2 separate regions of the Homo sapiens genome follow, and region 2 is linked to region 1. Evidence: promoter capture Hi-C in human tissues and cell types (Jung and others, 2019). All regions are on one chromosome and are shown on one strand. The core of a region is centred on a gene start or on the middle of the fragment in contact, and the rest is flanking DNA. Distances in the headings are between cores, read along the strand shown. Region 1 holds the start of PLCD4 (phospholipase C delta 4). Region 2 overlaps USP37 (ubiquitin specific peptidase 37).

The links. Contacts are between HindIII fragments. The study calls those that stand out against the background at their distance.
Region 2: a fragment that was not itself captured here is called in contact with the fragment with the promoter of PLCD4 in region 1 in 5 of the 25 tissues and cell types used here (aorta, bladder, heart left ventricle and 2 more).

The regions. Positions count from the first base shown.
Region 1 is chr2:218,605,815-218,609,582 of GRCh38, forward strand. PLCD4 (phospholipase C delta 4) reads left to right here and starts at 2,085. Exons shown (of 16, transcript NM_032726.4): 1 at 2,085-2,256. The HindIII fragment of the contact is 15,744 bases long and covers 1-3,768 here.
Region 2 is chr2:218,559,942-218,563,709 of GRCh38, forward strand. It overlaps USP37 (ubiquitin specific peptidase 37), which reads right to left. Exons shown (of 26, transcript NM_020935.3): 2 at 2,732-2,872; 3 at 879-942. Among named protein-coding and RNA genes, the nearest start is that of USP37, 6.5 kb to the right of the region's middle. The HindIII fragment of the contact is 9,239 bases long and covers 1-3,768 here.

The sequences.
Region 1 (3,768 bases), core at 835-3,334:
GTGGGCATGCCTTGGCACTCTGGAACCATACTAACCTTGTGAAAGTCTCCAAGTCCCTGCCCCAAAAATCAGAACATATGGGCTGAAGAATACTGTTGTATTCATGGGAACATTGAAACAGAATATTTGAGATCTAGACTCTCCCAGAAAATCCACTATGAGTGATAACACCCCTCACAGATTACCCAAGAGGGAAGGAGGTTGGGCAGCATTAAATTGATGCAAATAGTGACTCAGAAAGATGGTATATAATCTGGGGGTATAGAAGAGGAGTGTGGACTGTGAAGGTGAGGCTTGGAAAAATAAGCTGGCCATGTTGGGGAAGTAGAAATGGGAGAGCAAGACAAGCATGTAAAACAGGGCCTCTATTAAGTCAAATCTGAAATCAGCACAGTTTAAACTACGATGCCCCCCAATCTTCCTGTTCCCCATGAATGGCCTCCCTCCTAATGTGTCCCCTTCCTTCATACTACTACTCTTCTATCAAAACCTGCTCTCAGTAAAGAATATAGACAACCCAACCTAGGTATAAATTATTTAAAATCTACTTTGACCTTAGGATTGAATTTTTAAAAAATTATTTATAATCGGCTGGGTGCAGTGGCTTACGCCTGTAATCCTAGCACTTTGGGAGGCCAAGGCAGGTGGATTGCCTGAGCTCAGGAGCTCAAGACCAGCCTGGGCAACACGGTGAAACCCCGTCTCTACTAAAATACAAAAAAAAGTAGCTGGGGGTGGTGGCATGCACCTGTAATCCCAGCTACTCAGGAGGCTGAGACAGGAGAATTGCTTGAACCCGGGAGGTAGAGGTTGCAGTAAGCCAAGATCACGCCATTGCACTCCAGCCTGGGCAACAGCGAGACTCTTATCTCAAAAAAAAAAAAAAAAAAAAAAAAAAATATATATATATATATATATACACACACACACATATACATATACATATATGTATATTTAAAATCATTAAGCCTTCAAAAGTTAACACAGATATATGATATTTTAAATGAGACCTAAAAAAATAAATTTAAAAACACATATAGAAAATATATCAAGAGAATGTATAGCTTAATAAATTATTAAGTGAAGACCCTTGTTAGCACTTAGAACTAGAAATAGAGTTTAGCTAGCTATGCCAGAAGCCCCCTCTGTGTCCCATCTCACCACAATTCCTCCCCCTCCCAACAGTAACCACTATCCTGACTTTTATAGTAATCACTTAGGAGGATTTTATTTTAATGGGACTAAAAAATGTAGCTATAATCACTAATGGTAAAATATTAGGCAGTTGAGGGATGCTTGTGGAAACCATGATAGGCAGCCAGACGTCAGCACACTTAAAATTACACCATTTCACACAGTTCCCCTCTGAGCCTATGCTTCATCTCTGCACACATCTTTATAAACATGCATGTATGTCCTGAAGGTGCTACCTCCATTCTGAGGGCTATGACTTATAACCCAGAGGTGCTGAACAGATGCTTGTAGGAGGAACGAATGGATGTTTAAAAAAAAATGAGCTGTTTCACACGTTCATCTATGCATTCTTTCAATATTTAATGAGTGCCTAAAATATACATAGATTCTAACCTATCTGTCCCTCTACATTCTATCATCATTCCTGTCCTCCCCTTCTCCTCGTCTTCCTCTTTTCCCATCTTATTTCTTTCTTTTCCTGTGGGACGGAGCTACAGTGAGTGCCCTGCAGGCAGGATTCAGAGATACAGGAGCAGGCCAGTGGAAACAGACACTATGGAAAGGAGCCAGATTAAATAAGGGCAAAAACAGCCGTATTACATGCAGGAACCAGAATGAAAAGCAGTGATTCACAGAGCACTGCAACTGAGGACACTCCCTTCACTTTGAGAGCTACTGCGGGATTGGGGTCAATGAGGGCTGGCATCAAGATGAAGGGCAGCCAGGCTCCTCCCTGGAGATGTGCTGCCCTTAATCCTTCTCTCCCCACCCCACCCCCACTACTCCCTCACATTGACCAGTGTCCTGGGCCTTTAAGAGTTGGATGGGCTGGACTGGAGAGAGCTCACACCTCTCCCCTTCTTACTGCTTCCCTCCGGCTATAACTTGCCAGTCACAGCAGCCAGCTGCTGTAGAAGAGGGGAGGAAACAAGCCAGTGCAAGGGGAGCAAAAGAGAAAAGGAGCCAGGCTGGGCTTCCTGATCCCACAGCATCGCAGAGCTCGGGAGGCACAGCTCACAGACACAGGAAACACAGGACTGCTATTCTGCTCTCCTGCCCACGGTAAGGATCTGGAAGCTCTGACTACCCTCTGCTCTAAGCTCTGTCTTCCCTGAGTCCCTACCTCTGCCCTCTAGATGCTTATCCACCCTGATTAAATTGTACCCTAGACTCCTTTCCTCATCCCAACAGCTCTACAGGGCTCCCACCTCCTGGTTCTCTCTAGCTTATCCTCCTTTATCCTTACAGCTTTCCTCCTGGCTGTGTCAGTCGCCCTTTATATGAGGTACCTCTTAGCTTATGCAGGGCCAGAAGTGCCAACCCTAGCCACTCCTGAGGTGAACTCCACCCCCAATAAGGGAAGAAAAAATTGGAGTAGCTAAGCTTTAGCATAGATTCATTAACAGTTTGTTGAGGGTTGCAAAATAGGGGTTGGCCAAGAACCATGGGGAATCAGAGATCCCTGGTAATAGAGAGAGTTATGAAAGTCCCTTAGAAAGTTCTCTAAAGAACTTGTTCTTTGCCTATTCCATGGGCCAGAGCAGTTTCTTAGTGCACCAGAGTGCTACGTTGGTAAGAAAACCTACTTCTAGTTCTGCCTGTGCCATTAACTAGCTACGGGACCTGGAGCCACAACTTCCAGATCTGTGATACGAGAGAGTTTAGGGTTTCCCAGACTTGCCTGTGTACCAAGTGTACTTGTTAAAAATAAATATATTATTGAGCCCCACCCTGGGTAACTCTGATCTGGTAGATTTTTGGGTAGGGCTAAGGATCTCAATTTCAAGACATTCCAGAGGCTATTGATGTAGCTGGGAATGTCTGGATTAGATGTGTTATAAAAGAACTGGCCGGGCGCGGTGGCTCACACCTGTAATCCCAGCACTTTGGGAGGCCGAGGCGGGTGGATCACGAGGTCAGGAGATTGAGACCATCCTGGCTAACATGGTGAAACCCCGTCTCTACTGAAAATACAAAAAATTAGCCGGGCGAGGTGGGTGGCGGGTGCCTGTAGTCCCAGCTACTCGGGAGGCTGAGGCAGGAGAATAGCGTGAACCCCGGGGGGCGGAGCCTGCAGTGAGCCAAGATCGCACCACTGCACTCCAGCCTGGGCGACAGCGAGACTCTGTCTCAAAAAAAAAAAAAAAAAGAACCTTCAAGCTCCAACATTCTGTGACCTGTGACCAGAGCCAATTTGTCCTCTATATGAACCAGGTTAGGCATAATCCTTCTCAGAAGCAAGGGAGTAGACAAAATGATTCTCTTCTTTCTTGCCCCTCAGAGAGACCTGAGACACCCTGAATCCCACTGTAATCTCCTTGGTGCCATTGGTAACTCTGCCAAAGTCCATCTCTAGGTGACATGAAGTCTCTTAGAAATTGAGGACCAAATTGCGCTCTGCAGCTCTGGGCTACTTCCCATCTCATTTTGTGTCCCTATTTTCGTATCTGTATTAGAGAGGTAATTACCATATCATTGAAGATCTCCATATATGTGTCTATGAGTTAATATTTAAGACCAACCTTTCTTATTATCAGATGTCATCCTCTGTGTTTTTCCCAGTGCCCTCACTCC
Region 2 (3,768 bases), core at 548-3,047, 46 kb before region 1:
TCAATTCCAGCCTAGGTGACACTCTGAGTGAGACCCTGTCTCAAAACAAACAAACAAAAAAAAAACACAAAAAACTTAAACTTACAGCAATAATCGGATGTGTAAAACTCTTCAAATTAGCTTTTGCAAAAGTCAACAAGTAAATAAAATTACAGTTATAGCAAAGAATGTTATCAAATAGTGTGTTACATACATAAATATGCAATCATTTAAAATTGCGAACTCAAATTTTATACTATTTCAAACCTTTAAAAACACTACTTCTAAAGTGGATTCTTGCTTATAATTTACTAAATTAAACACAATTAAACATTACCTTTGCCTAAACAGCTCAACAAGAAAAGCCAGAAAGGCTAGTATATAAAGGAAAATGATGCTAGGTCTAGAAATCAGCAGCCAGCCAGCCCTATCACTTACTAATTTGTAACTTACCTTCTTTAACCATAAGTTTTCTCAACCACAAAATAGGAATAGCAAATGTTTTAGTGTTGTAGAATGAAATAATACATACTAGGCACTCAGCAGACAGCAGTAATTAATATTAATGGAATTAATGTCTGTTTTCTGAATTTATTCCATGTCCATAATACCTCTTTCTCCAAAGACCTCAATAAATACAATGTTAACAGGAGTCACTAACTCAACTATCTATAGGGGCTAGCAGGTGACAGAAATGACTTAAGCAGGCAAAATTTGAACAATTGCTACCCAATCTAGCCAATTATTACCATGTAGAAATAGCGAACCTAGCATTGCCAGACCATCTAACTTTTCAAGAAAATAAAGACATCCAAACGTTTATGTAAAACTGTCCATTTTTAATTGTTGGCAATGAATTCAAATTTATTTTTAACAGCTACAAATCAAACAAAACTCACCTACAGGCAGGATACAGTTTGGGGGCCCCTAGTTGGAGGTCTCTGGTTACTGTATGGCAAATAACTGAAGATAAAAGAAGATATATGAAAACACTTTCGAGAGTTTAAAGGTGTTAAGTATCATAAGTACTCTATTATTATTCACTCATCTCATCAAAAATTTTTAAGTGCTTACTATGGGCAGATTTAGATATTAGTATAATGTGCTGGGTAATATGAATTCGTCAAAGTAATAGAGTCCATTAATGTTTATAGAACTGTCTGTTAACATGACATTTGGCTCAAACTAGTAATGCTACAGAGCTACAGAAACTTGAGCCAGCAATGTATATCTGTAATACTTTTTTCTGCAATTATAATTTGTGACTTTATTGTTGGATACATCCTTGAGACTTTTTTCCACTCCGCCACTCAGTGCTACAAAGAATACATCACTCTTCTACTCCAGTTTCCCATGCCAGAAACAGAAGACTTGTCTTTGGCTTCCTTCTTGATAATTATTGGTATTAGATTAGAGATGGAAAGTCAGGAGAATCCCATCAATTCTGCCTCCACAGATCGGGAGCTGTGGCTGATGCCTGTAATCCCAGCACTTTGCGAGGCCGAGGTGGGCAGATCACCTGAGGTCAGGAGTTTGAGACCAGCCTGGCCAACATGGTGAAACCCCATCTCTACCAAAAATACAAAAATTAGCCAGGTGTGGTGGCGTGCGCCTGTAATTCCAGCTACTTGGGAGGCTGAGGCAAGAGAATCGCTGGAATCCGGGAGGCAGAGGCTGCAGTGAGCCGAGATCATACCACTGCACTCCAGCCTGGAGCCAGACTCTGTCTCAGAAAAAAAAAAAAAAAAATTCTACCTCCATACACCTTTCAGACAGCCTTATAATGAACTGCAGATCAAATCATATCCCTCTCTTGCTTTATATCATTCAATAGCTCTCCACTTGTTCTCGCAATAAAATCTAAACTCACTAATGTGACGTAGAGGCCCTTCAGGACTCAGGCCCTGCTTACCTGTCTATTCCCAATAAAACCCCCAAATCCTTCTGAATTACTTATAATTTCCTCAAAAATCTCTATGTTCTCATGCCACTATACCTTTGCATACACAGAGGTCATGTCTAGAGGATTTTTATGTGTTCTCCCCATCCCCAACCCTCCTTAATTTCTTCTCCTGGCTCTAAAATCAAGACTCAATTTACACATTACCCTCTTTAAAAAGCTTTATATAAAAGATGTAGGACATAAAATTGGCAGAACCAATATAATAAACTTTTTCATAATGCCTCAATTTAGTTCATTACCTGCTTTTGCACTAAATGAATTGACAGCTACATTTGCTCATTCATTATATTATCAGGGCTTGCTCTACTTGGTTAAGAGTAAAAAACTAAGTTTCTTTTTCAGCATGAAGCATGATCCAGTAACAGTTAAACTTCCTATGAACCTAAGACAAAGACAGGGTTTCCTTAAACTCGGTAATGGTAATTGTCTTATTAAAGCAAAAAAATAAGAAGACAAAAGATAATTAAAATGAATTATTCTTTAAATATGTCCAGAGATTCTTTCTCTAAATTTCTTCACAATTATTAAAATTACTGTTCAACTTTGAGCATCACCATGAATGCTCAAAGCAACAATATTAGCAAAAATGTTTCTATGCCCTGTACATTTATTTAAGTGCTCACATTTTAGGTACTGCTTTGAAAACATCCTTAATCAGAGAGCATTCAGTGGTAAATAAAGTATGGCCAAAACACAAAAACTATTACTACAAAACAAACACAAAACTGTCAGTTCCCGCCAGATTGCATGCTCTTTGAAACATATATCCAAAACAAAAACATTACTTACTTTTCAGTGACTTTTACCGAAAAACCCTATGTAATAGCAATTCACCTTTATTCTGATCCTTGTGCCAAAGGCAAAGCACTCTTCTTGGGACACTACTCATATTCTGCAGCTATGCCAGTTCTCCGGAAGCCATCAACTCAGCTAAAGAAAATAAAAATGTGCTTTTTAAAAAGAACCCAATATACAAAATTAATACTTAAAAGAAAGTGGGCTGGGCACGGTGGCTGACGCGAGTAATCCCAGCACTTTGAGAGGTGGAGGCGGGCAGATAACCTGAGGTCAGGAGTTCGAGACCAGCCTGACCAACATGGAGAAACCCCGTCTCTACTAAAAATACAAAATTAGCTGGGCGTGGCAGTGCATGTCTGTAATCCCAGCTACTCGGGAGGCTGAGGCAGGAGAATTGCTTGAACCCAGGAGGTGGAGGTTGCAGTGAGCAGAGATCACGCCATTGCACTCCAACCTGGGCAACAAGAGCAAAACTCCATCTCAAAAAAAAAAAAAAAGGAAAGTGATCGTTTATACAACAAAGATTAACTTCTTGGTTATTTAAAAACTACAGATTACCTTAATGAAAATATTTAAAATATGATGCACAACACACAGAGACACACATAAAAGATCAACAGAACTTTAGGAACTTATCTGCTGTGCATAATGAGGGATTACAGGATGAGCCTGCACCTTGTTCAACTTGTACCTTGGTTTATTCATTCTTGCTACATTTTGAAACTAAGAAGTCAGTGAGAAAGAATATGTCCTTTGTTCACTTTATAAACATTGTTACATAATAATGTCTTAAGTCTTAAAACTTCCATAACATGTTGATACTATTTCAAAAGGTGGGTAAACTTGGTGCTTTCACTTTTCTTTCAAAGCTAACATTGTTTCTCAAATTAGGCTTCACTAGGCCTGAACTTTCTCTGAAGTTCTACCCGCACATCTCTCACTGCCTATCTGAATGCTACAACATCAACTTTAAACTCCTTTGTTCATTTAGTAAACAACATTTATTAAGCTACTGCACTTTCAAGGCA